3 separate regions of the Homo sapiens genome follow, and regions 2 and 3 are each linked to region 1. The links are contacts of gene promoters, found by promoter capture Hi-C in blood cells and fetal thymus (Javierre and others, 2016). All regions are on one chromosome and are shown on one strand. Each heading gives the region's core, a stretch centred on a gene start or on the middle of the fragment in contact. The rest is flanking DNA. Distances are from core to core; before and after follow the strand shown. Region 1 holds the start of KCNG3 (potassium voltage-gated channel modifier subfamily G member 3). Region 2 overlaps MTA3 (metastasis associated 1 family member 3). Region 3 overlaps MTA3 (metastasis associated 1 family member 3).

What was found. The method cuts DNA at HindIII sites, captures the fragments that hold promoters and counts their contacts. A CHiCAGO score of 5 or more calls a contact.
Region 2: a contact is called between a fragment that was not itself captured here and the fragment with the promoter of KCNG3 in region 1, in 1 of 17 cell types (fetal thymus). The highest score is 6.9, in fetal thymus.
Region 3: a fragment that was not itself captured here is called in contact with the fragment with the promoter of KCNG3 in region 1 in 12 of 17 cell types (fetal thymus, naive CD4 T cells, naive CD8 T cells and 9 more); the score reaches 13.4 in fetal thymus.

Annotation. Positions count from the first base shown.
Region 1 is chr2:42,490,910-42,495,886 of GRCh38, reverse strand. It overlaps KCNG3 (potassium voltage-gated channel modifier subfamily G member 3), which reads left to right and starts at 1,905. Exons shown (of 2, transcript NM_133329.6): 1 at 1,905-3,050. The coding sequence starts at 2,386. It also overlaps a transcript of MTA3 not described here. RefSeq lists enhancers at 584-878, 2,203-2,960, 2,961-3,718 and silencers at 1,633-1,712, 1,803-1,852, 2,033-2,122. The HindIII fragment of the contact is 17,203 bases long and covers 132-4,977 here.
Region 2 is chr2:42,715,329-42,720,305 of GRCh38, reverse strand. It overlaps MTA3 (metastasis associated 1 family member 3), which reads right to left. Exons shown (of 17, transcript NM_001330442.2): 15 at 1,232-1,318. Among named protein-coding and RNA genes, the nearest start is that of OXER1, 46 kb to the left of the region's middle. The HindIII fragment of the contact is 3,978 bases long and covers 191-4,168 here.
Region 3 is chr2:42,644,160-42,649,136 of GRCh38, reverse strand. It overlaps MTA3 (metastasis associated 1 family member 3), which reads right to left. Exons shown (of 17, transcript NM_001330442.2): 6 at 4,893-4,977. Among named protein-coding and RNA genes, the nearest start is that of MTA3, 78 kb to the right of the region's middle. The HindIII fragment of the contact is 3,791 bases long and covers 1-3,184 here.

The DNA of each region.
Region 1 (4,977 bases), core at 656-3,155:
CTCAGCGTTTCTCAGAACAGACCCTTCTTCATCTTCACAGACACGGGGTTGGGGATCCCATTCCTGGGTTGCGAAATGACCTTCTCCTTAGAATGACCCAAAGTGCAAAGGCATCTTCCTGAAATAAAGCTTTCATCAAGCCATTTCTGCTATGGAAACCTCCAGGGATTCCATTGCTTATGGGATCCAATTTAAATGCTGCAGTTGAGATCCCCATTGTTTCAGTGGGCAAGTGCATTATACTTCTTCACAGACTTTAAACCTCCACATTCGAGATTTTGCTACTAGGAATGTTTTGCCCTTTCTCTGTGCCAACTCATGGCCATCAGCACCTCCAATTCTGTCTTGAAACTCACTTTCTTACAGATATTTTTCTTGTTTAATATCTACTTAGTAGATACTAAACAGCAAAGTAGCAGTATCTACCCAGTAGACACTAAATAGCAAAATAGATACTGAATAGCAAACTATTTAGTAGATACTAAAGTAGCAAATAACTCCTGTTTTTGAGCTTTTAATCACATTTAGTGCTCTTAAGATAAATTATCCAAGTCTGGGGATAAACAACTCACAGAGATTTTCATTCTTTAAGAAGCCACCGAGAGTGATTTTACTTAAAAGACAGCACTCACATTTTCAGTTGTCTGCCTTTTCACTAGGAATCCACTTAAGAACCAGCGCAAAAGGACTCCGTTTGGCGACCTCTAGCGGGCACCGGACAATCCTACAAAATTACGAAAAGTAGAGGGCAATGAAAAACTCTTCCCTTTAACCAGCCAGGTTACCCTGTGGTCAGATGACCGCATCTCACCCTACCCCACCCTTATTTTTTTCTTCTAGTATTTGTTTTGCATCTAACACGGTTCGCCTTACAACTCACCTGTCTCGCCTCCGGCGGGCTGGGCTGCCGGTGTCGGGTGTCAGGTGAATGAATTGCTGGTAGCAGTTTAAAATAATCCCTGCCAAGTGGAACCCGCTTTCTGGGCACGGACAAGAGCGCGGGGTAGATCGCTCTGCGGAGCCTTCACGGGGCTCTTCCCGCTCGGAGGGCCGGTGCTGCAGCCGGGTCAGGGGTGCGCGGGGGAAATCAAGATATTTTGAAAAGGAGGATGCAGACGAAGACCAAGAGAAAGGCTGTTTTTGCCGGTGACAAGGCGTTCCTCCCCAGACTTTCATCCCACTCTAAGGGCAGCATCTCGAGAGGGTCCAGGCGCGCTACACGTTAGGCGCCTTCTCAGGACTCGCGCCCCAGAACGTGGGGGCCGGGGCCGGGTCGGGGACCGCTTCCCTCCGCGGGCTGGCAGGCGGCACCGAGGCTGGGGGATGGGGCGTGTAGCCGCCCTCTGAGCACGCGGTACGTGGGTCGCCCCGCGCGGCGGTAGGAAGAGCAAAGTCGGCAGGAAAAGCCGTGGCTGGGATGCCTTCCCTGAGAAATCCTTAGGGGCGATGTCAGAACCCGAGCTGGGCTCCGGACAGTTTCTGGAAAAAGCTCTCCAAACGCCGTCTGTCCCCGCACCCGAGTCCACACTGGGCTTTGAACCAGGGCTGTTAAAAGGGGCCCTGGGGACTGCCCAATTCATCCCGATGGCCCAGGGCAGGACGCGGGAGCAGGCATCCCGGCGCTGGGCTCCCCGCTCCCCCGCCCTGCGGACCCCTCCCCGCCACTACGGGCCGGAGCGGAGGGGGAGGACGGCGTCACGAGGCGGGGAGCCCGAGGTCCAGGGCGGGGCGCCCGGGAATCCCAGCCCGAGCAAGCCGGGGAGGTGCGGGCGCGGGCGGGAAGCGGAGGGCGGCGCGGAGGGAGGTGAGCGGCGCGCGCGGAGCCGGCGGGCGAGGAGGAGGACTGCACAGAGGCCCCGCCCCCGCCGCCGCGAGCCGGCTCTTCGCCGCCTCCGAACCCGCTCACTTTGCCTCTCGCCTCTGGACGGCGGCGGGGCGGCCGCCGGATTCGCGGCCGCAGGGAGCGCCGGAGACGGGGAGCTATTCCGCCCCGGCGGCTCCATTCGGCGCCCGCAGCCCTCAGGGGGTCGGCCCCGCGGCTTGGGAGAGGGCACCGCGGCCTCGGTGTGCGCAGCCCTCGGGCGCGAGGGTCGGCGGCGCGGACACAGCCGCGTTCCCAGCCGGTGGGGCTCAGCGCTGGCGCCGGCGAGGACTCCCCGGCCACCCGCAGGTACCGCCGGGCGGAGGGCGCGCTACTAGCAGCGCCGGAGATACTCGAGCCCAGGGACCCCCGGGCCAGCGGAGGGCAGGAGCGGAGCCCCGAGGGAGCGCGGGCCCCGACGGCGCGCTCCCCCGTCAGCCACGGGCAGGCAGGCCCCGCGTGGCGGCTTGGGGTGGGGGGCTGCAGCGGGGCCCTCGGGCCGAAAGTCCCCCGGGCGGCCAGCCATGACCTTCGGGCGCAGCGGGGCGGCCTCGGTGGTGCTGAACGTGGGCGGCGCCCGGTATTCGCTGTCCCGGGAGCTGCTGAAGGACTTCCCGCTGCGCCGCGTGAGCCGGCTGCACGGCTGCCGCTCCGAGCGCGACGTGCTCGAGGTGTGCGACGACTACGACCGCGAGCGCAACGAGTACTTCTTCGACCGGCACTCGGAGGCCTTCGGCTTCATCCTGCTCTACGTGCGCGGCCACGGCAAGCTGCGCTTCGCGCCGCGGATGTGCGAGCTCTCCTTCTACAACGAGATGATCTACTGGGGCCTGGAGGGCGCGCACCTCGAGTACTGCTGCCAGCGCCGCCTCGACGACCGCATGTCCGACACCTACACCTTCTACTCGGCCGACGAGCCGGGCGTGCTGGGCCGCGACGAGGCGCGCCCCGGCGGGGCCGAGGCGGCTCCCTCCAGGCGCTGGCTGGAGCGCATGCGGCGGACCTTCGAGGAGCCCACGTCGTCGCTGGCCGCGCAGATCCTGGCTAGCGTGTCGGTGGTGTTCGTGATCGTGTCCATGGTGGTGCTGTGCGCCAGCACGTTGCCCGACTGGCGCAACGCAGCCGCCGACAACCGCAGCCTGGATGACCGGAGCAGGTACTCCGCCGGCCCTGGGAGGGAGCCCTCCGGGTAGGACGCACTGCTTCTCTACCCGTCCCGTCCGTCCTGTCGCGTCTGTCCGTCCCGTCCATACGTCCCGTCTCCGTCCTGTCCGCCTCCGGGCGACCGAGCCAGCGGGGTGCGCGCCCAGCGAGGCCCAGGCGCGGCCAACTACGGGACCGGTCGGTCCCCACTCCTACCCCGTTGTCCGGGGCACCAGCGGGGTCTGGCCCTTACACTAGACGCACCTCTTGAGGGCGAAATCCTCAGGCATGGGGAGGGGCGTGTAGAGATAGACAAATGTCCCCTCTTTGTAGTTTACTTTTGCGCAGAGAGCAACCTGCTAATTACATTTTTCTGAACTTTTATTGTTAGGGTTCAACAATTAAGCCTTGAACTAAGCGCAGTTTGAATTATTTGCCAATTTTTGGTAGTGTTTGGAAAGATGGATTCTTGTTATGGTGAAATGTGCACTCTCCACACATTCTATACACTCTGCCCCCGGCATACTATGTGCTGTAATGGAATCGTTATATTATAAAGCAGGTTAATTTATCGATAGACTCTAAATAATGGATGTCTGTGCCCTTTTCTTCCCCCTTTTCCTACAAAGTATGGAGTTAGCAAACCTCTTGTCCACCGTTTGGTAGCAAAGATTCACACTGCGACTTTCAGAGGGTCTATGATATGGGAAGGGAAAAAACCATTACCTTGAGAACAAAGAAAAATCTAAACTGTCCTAAATCCAGAAAACAGTATTTGGGTAAATTTTTTTTTCTACTTTACTAGGATGAATGGGAAAATATTGCAGTCTTTTCTTAGACTGTCTTACCTTGAAGTGGTGATAGCACTTTCCTGTTTTTAGTACAAGTGAGCATATTCAGTGGGAGGAATAAGCAGACTAAGGATGGACTTTCAAAGAAGACAGCCTTTTGGGGCACAAAACCCAAACTGCATATTATAGTTTATCTGTTTGACACTGTCTTAAGATCCTCCTTCCATTCATTTTTTAAATTTAAGGTTGTGCCCTGTCATGTTTTACTGATAGGCATGTACATGTTCGGAACGGCGGCCTTGCTATTGCAGTGGATTACTTCTACATAATATTCTTCCTGTAGGGAGTAAGGATTTTTATATAAATCTAAGAAGTAAATAAAATTGTCTAGTGCCACGGAGTCTATTATTTCTTCTTGGCTTGAAATCGAAGATACATGCTTTGAAAGGAAATTCATTAGGAAACTCATTTTGTTTAGTGAATTAGGTTCTAACAGTTTTGAATTTACAGATAAGAGTTACTTATTTGGTTCTCCAACAATACAATGAAATTAATTTATTTACCTAAATACATAAATGCCTTTTTTTTTTAAGGAGGGCTTTAGGAAAATGGACTTGGAATTTTGATTCTCCAGTAACTGTAGAATTCTAAGGTTAGTGAAGGTTTGAGCTACATTAGCAAAGGAAACAGGAGAATTGAATTATTATTAGTGCAGATAATGAGGGAGTTGACTGAACCAGTATATGAGCAAAACCAGTAAAATACCTCAAATATAATCTTAGGGGGAGGGAGGGTGTTTTGGGAGAGGGAAAGGGCCATATGGAGATCATTAATGTAAAGCATTTGTAAAGAAATGAGAGAAATGCATAGTAATTTTAGGGAGAGAAACACAAGAAACAAAAAAGGGAAGACAGAGATGGAAAAGAGGGAGACTGCAAAAGAAGTGAAGGGAGAAAAGTAATGCTTATTTGTGTATATGTATTTTATGTATGTGTATAATTATTCAAGTCAGAGCTGTTTCCTAGATACTTAGATATTTCAGGCAAAAGCATGTTTTTCTTAGCTTAATGGCCCAGTTTTAGCTTCACTGTCTGAGTGTAGGTATATGAAAACCAATATCTGCAATCCCAAACAGATAAACTGCAGGATGGCCGAATGAGGATGCTGCTCATTACAGAGGAA
Region 2 (4,977 bases), core at 930-3,429, 220 kb before region 1:
GAGGCTGAGGCAGGAGAATGGCGTGAACCTGGGAGGCGGAGCTTGCAGTGAGCCGAGATTGCGCCACTGCACTCCAGCTTGGACAGAAGAGTGAGATTCCGTCTCAAAAAAAATAAATAAATAAAATAAATAAATAAATAAATAAATAAAGCAAGGAATAAGGTAGTACAGTAACATCAAAGAAGAAGCTTTGAGCCTCTGAATCCTGGAACATTCTTTTGGGTAAGGACTAGATAATATACCAAATTCAAGACTACACTTTGATTTTTAAAAGAGTTGATGTCTGCAGTCTGAACATTTCATAATTATAAATCTTTCTGTCAAAGCAACTCTGAGTACATATTTCACTTTACTGAAAAAGAACTATGAGAAGCACAAAAACATGCCATTCTTGCTTCTAGGTATGTGAAAAACCATTATTTTGTAAGTTATTTCTCTTAAAACTTTGTTTAAACAAAGAGATTATTGCATAGTAATTTTGTATACTATTCTTAATTGTGATATTTCAACATAAAAATGGAGCTATCATCTTTGGAGATTTCCAAGTCAGATGGCATGATAAAAATAAGAAAGCAATACAAATGCCTCCCCTTCAAAGTCACCTAAAGCACACCAAAACTATAAATATTTAAGGCTTGAAGCAGTGGCTCACATCTGTAATCCCAGCACTTTGGGAAGTCAAGGCAGGAAGATCGCTTGAGGCCAGGAGTTTGAGACCAGCCTGGGCAACAAAGCGAGACCCTGTCTCTACAAAAAACAAATAAAATAAAAAATTAAAACCTATAATTATTTTAAGATAAGTTATAAACCAGTTTGATCTCATTTTAATAAGTAAATAAATCTTCTATTTAAAAAGAGGTGAGGTGAGTTAGAAACAGGGAAGGGATCTGAAGAAGAATATTAAGACTATTCATCCTAAGTACTAACTGAATGCTTTTCATTTTCTTTTTTGCTTAATCTGTATTTATTTCCATGAATATATATTACATTTTTATTCGATGGCTTTTTGGAAAAAGTAGACATATATCATAAATCTGTGTGTGTATGTGTGTGTGTTGTGTGTGCTGGTAATAAAAGTTTCTGAAACAAAATAAACTGACTATATAAAGGTATCCAATTTCGGCTATTTGAAGGGCCTGAATTAGTTTAGGTATGTCCATTTAGAATTGCCAAATATCTATACTATTCAGAAATTGCTCTTTGAGTTTTTCCTCTATTAGAAAATACCCACCTAAATACCCAATGATACATGCCAAAGGCTTCCTAGTGCTTTTGCTTTTCAGTGGACTTCCAGATAGTTCAGCATGTCTGTCTGCATCTGAGGAGAGAAAGAAACATGGAGATAACCAATGAAATGGATTTCTCTAGCCAGACTACATGCACCACAGAAATAAAGGTACAAGTGGAAAACAGTACAAAATAGCCACCAGATTCCCGCATAATTTCCTTTTGGGTTTGAGAAAATGGTTTCTAGTTCTGGTTCCCAATTTCTAAATGGGATTTACATAAAATAACATGTAATTATTAGTAGTAGTATTATTTTGAGACGGAGGCTCACTCTGTCACCCAGGCTGAAGTACAATAGCGTGCTCTCAGCTCACTGCAACCTCCACCTCCTGGGTTCAAGCAATTCTCCTGCCTCAGCCTCCTGAGTATCTGGGATTACAGGTGCACACCACCATGCTGGGCTAATTTTTGTGTTTTTAGTAGAGATGGGGTTTCACCATGTTGGTCAGGCTGGTCTCGAACTCCTAATCTTGTGTTCTGCCCACCTGCTCATGCCTGTAATCCCAGCACTTTGGGAGGCCAAGGAGGGTAGATCACCTGAGGCCAGGAGTTCAAGACCAGCCTGTCCAACATGGAGAAACCCCATCTCTACTAAAACACAAAATTAGCTGGGCATGGTGGCACATGCCTGTAATCCCAGCTACTCGGGAGGCTGAGGCAGGAGAATTGCTTGAACCCAGGAGGTGGACATTGCGGTGAGCCAAGATCACGCCATTGCACTCCAGCCTGGGCAACAAGAGCGAAACTCCATCTCAATAATAATAATAACAATAATAATTTACATGCAAGAGAATACAGACAGCACTCTTCAAGGACATTACCACCATTATCTAGGTCATGCCTACAATAACCATGTGATGTTTTCATGGGCTATCAAAAGAACTCGTTAACCCCTAGAAATAAAGCGAAAAAAAAAAAAAAAAAGGTACCAGAGTAATATGGAAAACACTCACTTTAAAGCCCCATATGGGTATAGCTAATACACATCCAACACACTCATGCTTTTTTATTGCGTGTGCCCATCTCAGAAATATGCTTCATTTCTAGCCATGGCATTTCTACATTATAGCAGAAATAATCGCCGTAAAGCACAAGGTGGAATCAGTCTTAACGTAAGATTGAAATGACATGGAAGATAAATGACAGCTGCTAAAGGCAACAAACTTCGCCATCTCTGACCTAGATGGGCCATACTTGGCCATCCCTTCCCCACTGTGAAGGCTTAACCTATCTTGGCAAAACTCAATTGTTAGGCTAGGGATTTGCAAGAGTAATAATGGGCCATTTGGTTTTATCACTGGTTTTCTAACCCTGATCAAGCTATGTCATTCATTGGTGCTGAGATTTAAAAGGCTACCTGTGTGCAAACAGAGTATTTCATCCAACAGTCAGAACAGTAAGAAACAGTGAGGATGGGTATTAGCTAATCAGTTTTCATGATGCTCATTATACCCTATTGTAAGACATTTTCAGACAAAAATAAAGCATACAATACAAACATTCTGTGTTTTAATTAGCTGTCATTTGGAAGAGTAGATGTGCAAGACAAAGGGACAAAACAAAACGTGTATTGAAACACTTTAATACTGTCATAAATATTAACAGAATCACTTTAACCTGTATGATTCTACTATGTTTATGCCTTTTTCCCACCTTCAAATATTTGACAAAAATGTCCTACAGGTTTTCTGATTTACTGAAGAATTTTTCCTTTTGCAAACTGAGACATTTCTGGGCATACACACAGGGAATTTCCTTTGATACCCACAGGAATTATTTGCTCTACTAGAGTTAAAATGTGCAAGTCTGGAACTTCAAATAATTTTAAATAAAAGTTAGGTTTTTATGAGTTCTAGCCCTTTCACCAAAAAAAAAAAAAAAAAAAAAAAAACTCTTTTCTGAAAATTATTAAACCGAAGATGGCAAAAGAGCATTTTTTAAAAATTCTCATTGTGGTTAAAAAAAACACAATGAGATACTATTTCACACTAGTCAGAATTGCTATCATTAAGTCAAAAAATAACAGATGCTGGCAGAGAAAACAGGTTGAAGAGAAAAAGAAATGCTATACACGGTTGATGGGAATACAAATTAGTTCAACCATGTGGAAAACAGTGTGGTGATTCCTCAAAGAGCTAGAAACAGAACTATCACCCAACAATCCCACTACTGGATATATACCCAAAGGAATATAAATCATTCTATCATAAAGACACATGCATGTATATGTTCATTGCAACACTATTCACAATAGTAAAGACATGGAATCAACCTAAATATCCACCAATGATAGACTGAATAAAGAAAATGTGGTACATGTACACCATGAAACACTATGCAGCCAGAAGAAAAGAACGATATCATGTCCTTTGCAGGAACATGGATGGAGCTGGAGGCCACTATCCTTAGCAAACTAATACAGTAACAGAAAACCAAATACTGCATGTTCTCACTTATGAGTCGGAGCTAAATGATGAGAACTCATGGATGCACAGAGGGGAGCAACAGACACTGGGGCCTATTGGAGGGTGGAGGGTGAGAGGAGGGACAGTATCAGGAAGAATAACTAATGGGTACTAGGCTTAATAATTGGATGATGAAATAATCTGTACAACAAACCCCCTTGACACAAGTTTACCTATATAACAAACCTGCACATGTACCCCTGAACTTTTTTAAAAGTTAAAAAATAAGTTTAAAAACATTAAAATAGACAAAGCACATACTGCAGAGAGCCTAAAACAATCAGGAATCTGAAAATATAGCACCCAGATATTGGCTAATTATTATGCAACCACTGACAAGTATAAATGATCCAATTTCTTTTCTTCCTATTCAGGTGATTCCCAGGAGAAAAAATAAATTACTAAGCTATGAAGCTTTTCACCTATTGTTGAATAATAGTGAAGATACAGGCAGAAATATAATAAACATCTTGTGGAAGAGTAATCTAAATAAACACTAGGAAGCAACCCAAAGCCTGTAAGGATCAAACGCCTGCCAAACCATTGAGTTAACACTACATAATTTCTTGCTAATATTACTGATTCACCTGAAATTCAAGTTATATTTGGGATAAGGACAAGATAAATTTTTCTTTCTTCTCTATTAATAAAGCTGGAATGAGTCATCTTGGTTATTTCCTCAATGTCTTGACAAAGGCAATCACCATATTACTAGTAATAAGATTTGCCTTTTATTCCAGTCTAGATGACCCAAAGGAAAACTGCCAATATGGCAGCAATTGATAGACATTGATGGCTATCATCAACAAATCCATCAAAGAGGTCACCAACACAATACCCAAAGATACTTCATTTTAAACTATATTTGCTTCTAATTTCTCATTAAAAATAGGAGGATTAATTATATGATGTTCTAAGTGACAATTTGCATTACAGAGTACCTCTGAATGGGAGATCAAAGCTTTTTAGAAAGAAGCATATTTCACTAATCCTCATAATATTTTATAGAAAGTTCCAGCTACTCAGGAGGAGGAGGAGGGAGGATCCCTTGAGTTAGAGGCTATAGTGAGCCATGATCACGCTACTGCACTCCAGGCTGGGTGACAGAGCAAGACCCTGTCTCAAAAAAAAAAAAAAAAAAAAAAAAGTAGTTGGTGGCAAGAATTATGTCTCAACTGTGAAAAAATTAGAGTGAAAAGATTCTAGGACTGCCTTAGTCACTCTT
Region 3 (4,977 bases), core at 40-2,539, 150 kb before region 1:
AGGAGTGAGCCACCACACCCGGCCGATAACAGCTATTAAATGAGTGGTACTAGAGGCCAGGGGGAGAAGACTGTAACAGCTGGGCGCTGTGCTAACTGCATGACAAGAATTACCTCATTTGCTCATCGCAACGATATAATGTATTACATACACTATCATTCCCTGTTTAAAGAGAAAGAAACAGGAACTTGGAGGGGTTAATCATTTCCCCAAGGTTACTCAATTAAAACATAGTATAGTCAGGATTACCCAAACTTGTGAACCTAGAGTCATTTTCGTTTAATAATTTAAGGTTTTCATAACATACTTTAACAGTTAAAATTTAAATTTAATATGTAGAACAAATTTTTCTTAAAATTCCAATGTTATAATAATACATTTAAACAATGACTCAAAACTTCTCTTTTATGGAAAATTTTCTAGGTGGTTTATTCAAACTCAGTGAAAGATGTAAAATCTAAAAGACGCCTTTACTTTCATTTGTAAACTACATACTCTTTTCAGATCTCTAGAGTTTGTTAGGTGATGGGTAGCCATAAATGAATTTAAAAATCGAAAAGCCACAAAAAGATTTATTCCCTAGCAAGACAAATGCTGCAACAATCTCTCAGTATCCTATCCATCAAGACATGTTCACAAAGAAAGCAAGCCTGTAACATATCCTGGCAGAGTGCTGCTGCTGCCACCTACCCAAGATATTAATTCCAGTTCTACATTCCATGCCAATGCAAATTAGAATCTGGCCACTGGTGGAAATGTACCCACTCAGGAGTACTAAAAGGGTTAGGAAGAATGGATTCCAGCAAATCCTAAACATCTGTTCTTGAATATGATATGTCCTACTATTTAACTTCCCTGCAATCAGGTACTAGCTACATATGGGAGTTTCTGTGATGGCAATGACCATGTTTTTCAAGTGTGGTTAATTACTGGTATACCTACTGGTATCCCCACTCCTTCCCCCCTAAAAAAATAGTCATTAGAAAAAAGAAGGGTGGCTGGGTGCAGAGGCTCATGCCTGTAATCCCAGCACCTTGGGAGGCCAAGGCAGGTGGATCACCTGAGGTCAGGAGTTCAAGACCAGCCTGGCCAACACGGCGAAACCCTGTCCCTGCTAAAAATACAAAAGTTAGCTGGGTGTGGTGGCAGGCACCTGTAATCCCAGCCACTTGGGAGGCTGATGCAGGAGAAAATTGCTTGAACTTGGGAGGCGGAGGTTGCAATGAGCCGAGATCACGCCACCGCACTCCAGCCTGGGCAACAAGAGCGAAACTCCATTTCAAAAAAAAGAAGAGTTCTTTAAACCTTGCATCTACTCAGTTGCCTGATTACAAGTGAAAAGAAACATTCTGCATATGCTTTAATGCTTCAGGCTGAAATAAGAGTTCAAAATGGCTTCTACATTTATGATGAAAAATACAGTATTTTTCAATAAAATCGATAAATCTGTTGTTTTTGTTAGAGATGAATACTTAACAAAGAAAACTACCAAGTTATAAAATGTAAAAATAAATACCCAGAAGTAGCCTTGAAGAAAGGAAAGGCATTCCTTGTTTCTGGTTAAAACATTCCAAGACTGCTGGCAGTGGGAGGCGGGGTGGGAGGCAGGTGGGGTGGGGGGATGGCACACACCTGTAATCCCAGCACTTTGGGAGGCCAAGGTGGACAGATCGCTTGAAGTCAGGACTTCAAGACCAGCCTGGCCAACATGGCAAAACCCCATCTCTAATAAAAATACAAAAAAAATTAGCTGGGCATGGTGGCACATGCCTGTAATCCCAGCTACTCGAGAGGTCGAGGCACAGGAATCGTTTGAACCCAGGAGGCGGAAGCTGCAGTGAGCCAAGATTGTGCCACTGCACTTCAGCCTGGGCAACAGAGCGAGACTCTGTCTCTAAAAAAAAGTTTTTCTCTGTAGCATGTGATGCTCAATAGCATTTTACCTATGGTAGACTTCCTTTCTTTTTTGTTTTTTTTTTTTAGACAGAGTCTCACTCTGTCACCCAGGCTGGAGTGCAGTGGCGCGATCTCGGCTCACTGCAACCTCCGCCTCCTGGGTTCCACGCCATTCTCCTGCCTCAGCCTCCCGAGTAGCTGGGACTATAGGCGCCCGCCACCACGCCCGGCTAATTTTTTGTATTTTTAGTAGAGACGAGGTTTCACCATGTTAGCCAGGATGGTCTCGATCGCCTGACCTCGTGATCCGCCTGCCTCGACCTCCCAAAGTGCTGGGATTACAGGCGTGTGCCACCGTGCTCAGCCAGTAGACTTCTTTCAAAAACAGAGACAACCCTCTCAAACCCTGCCACTGCTTTGCCAACTAAGTTTATATAATATTCCAAATCCTTCGTTGCCATTTCAACAGTGTTCACAGCATCTTCACCAGGAGTAGATTCCATCTCAAGAAACCACTTTCTTTGCTCATCCATAAGAATCGACTACTCACTCATCCAAGTTTTACCACAAGATTGCAGCAATTCAGTCAGTCACATCCTCAGGGCCCACGCTCACTGTAGTTTTCTTGCATATTATATCCACCATAACTACAGTTACTTCCACCACTGAAGTCGTAAACCCTTCAAAGTTATCCACGAGTGTTGGAATCAACTTCTTCTAAACTCCTCTTAATGTTAATATTTTGACCTCCTCCTATCAATTACAGTTGTTGTTACTGGCATCTAGAACGGAGAATTCTTTCCAGAAGGTTTTCGATTGACTACTCAGATCCATCAGAGGAATCATTATCTATGGCAAGTATAGCCTTAGGTGATGTTATTTCTTAATAATAAAATGTGAAAGTCAAAATTTCTCCTTGATCCATAGACTCCAGAATGGATGTTGTCTCAGCAGTCATGCAAACAACATTCACCTCCTTGTACATCCCCATCAGAGCTCTTGGGTGAAGGGGAGCATTATCAATGAGCAGTTTTTGAAAAGAATTTTTAAAGGAATCCTTTTTCCTAAGCAGTAGGTCTCAACAGTGAGCTTAAAATATTCAGTAAACCATACTGTAAATAGAGGTGCTGTCATTTAGGCTTTGTTGTTCTATTTACAGGACACAGGCAGAGCAGATTTAGTGTAATTCTTAAGAGGTCTGGGATTTTTGGAATGGTAAACGAGGATTGGCTTCAAGTCACCAGCTACATTAGTCACTAATCAGAGAGTCAGGCTGTCCTTTGAAGCTTCTAGCTATGAAAGTCCTAGATGGCATCTTCTTCCAATAGAAAGCTGTTTTATCTACATTGAAACTCTGTTGTTCAGAGTAGCAGCCTTCATCAGTGACCTTAGCTAGTTTTGGATAACGTGCTGCAGCTTCTACATCAGCACTTGCTGCTTTACTTGCATTTTTATGTTATGATGAAGAATTTTTTCCTTAAACCCCATGACCCAACCTCTGCTGGCTTCAAATTCTTCTTCTCCAGCTTCCTCACCTCTCAGTCTTCACAGAATTGAAGAGACTTAGGGCCCTGCTCTGGATTAGGCTTTGGTTTAAAGGAATGTTCTTGGTGGTTTGATATTCTATCTACGCCACTAAGACTTTCTCCATGGTATCAGCAGTAAAGCAGTAAGGCTGTTTTGTTTGTTTGTTTGTTTGTTTGTTTGTTTGTTTTTTAGACAAAGTCTCACTCTGTTGCCCAAGCTGGAGTGCAGTGGCACAATCTTGGCTCACTCCAACCTCTGCCTCCGAGGTTCAAAGGATTCTCTTGCCTCAGCCTCCCGAGTAGTTGGGAATACAGGCACACACCATCACACTTGGCTAGTTTTTGTATTTTTAGTAGAGATGGCATTTCACCATGTTGGCCAGGCTGGTCTCGAACTCCTGGTCTCAAGTAATCCACCTGCTGCGGCCCCTCAAAGTGCTGGGATTAAAGGCATGAGCCACTGCACCCAGCCTGTTTTGCTTTTTTTTATCATTCATGTGTGTTCACTGGTGTAGCTTTTTTTTTTTTTTTTTTTTTTTGAGACAGAGTCTCACTCTGTCACCCAGGCTGGAGTGTGGAGTAGCACTTTTAATTTCCTTCAAGAACTTTTCCTTTGCATTCACAACTTGGCTAACTGGGGAAAGAGGCGTGGCTTTTAGCCTATCTTGGCTTCTGACACGCCTTCCTCACTAGCTTCATTTCTTGCTTATGATTTAAAGTGAGAGACATGCTACTTTTCCTTTCACTTGAACACTTACCGGCCACTGCAGGGTTATTAACTGGCTTAAGTTCAATATTGTTGTGTCTCATAAAATAGGGAGACCCCAGGAGAGAGAAAGAGGCAGGGAAGGGACAGTCAGTGGAGCACTCAGAACACACAGCATTTATCAATTCAGTTTATCCTTTCATATGGGTACGGTTCGTGGCCCCAAAAACAATTACAATAGTTACCTCTAAGATCACTGATCACAGATCACTATAACAGATATTATAATAATGAAAAGGTTTGAAATGTTTCAAGAATTACCAAAATTTGACACAGAGACACTGTCCTGTTGGAAAAATGGCACCAAATGACTTACTCAACAGGGTTGCCACAAACCTTCAAATTTTTAAAAAACTAGATATATATGAAGTGCAGTAAAAACAAAGTACATTAAAATGAGGCAATTTTGTAATTCTAAAATTGGAAGTGCTGGCCAGGCCACACCTATAATAGCATCACTTTTGGGAGTCCGAGGTGGGAGGATTGTTTGAGGCCAGGAGATCAAGACCAGCCTTGGCAACATAGCGAGGCCTCATCTCTATTTATTTATTTATTTTTTATTTTTTACAAAGAACAGTAAAATGGCAAGTGCTTATAACTTTTAGACTTTGCCCTGAACATTGCCTCTTCTACATGAGGACATGTATATTTGAGTTTCAAGATATATTTGTTTCACAAAACTGCAAACACGCAGAAAAACGTACCTTCTAACAGCATTTCTGGAATGTCTGCTTGATATCTAGGTCCCACTCTGATTTCACCTTTGTCAGCTAATAGTGTTTTCAATGA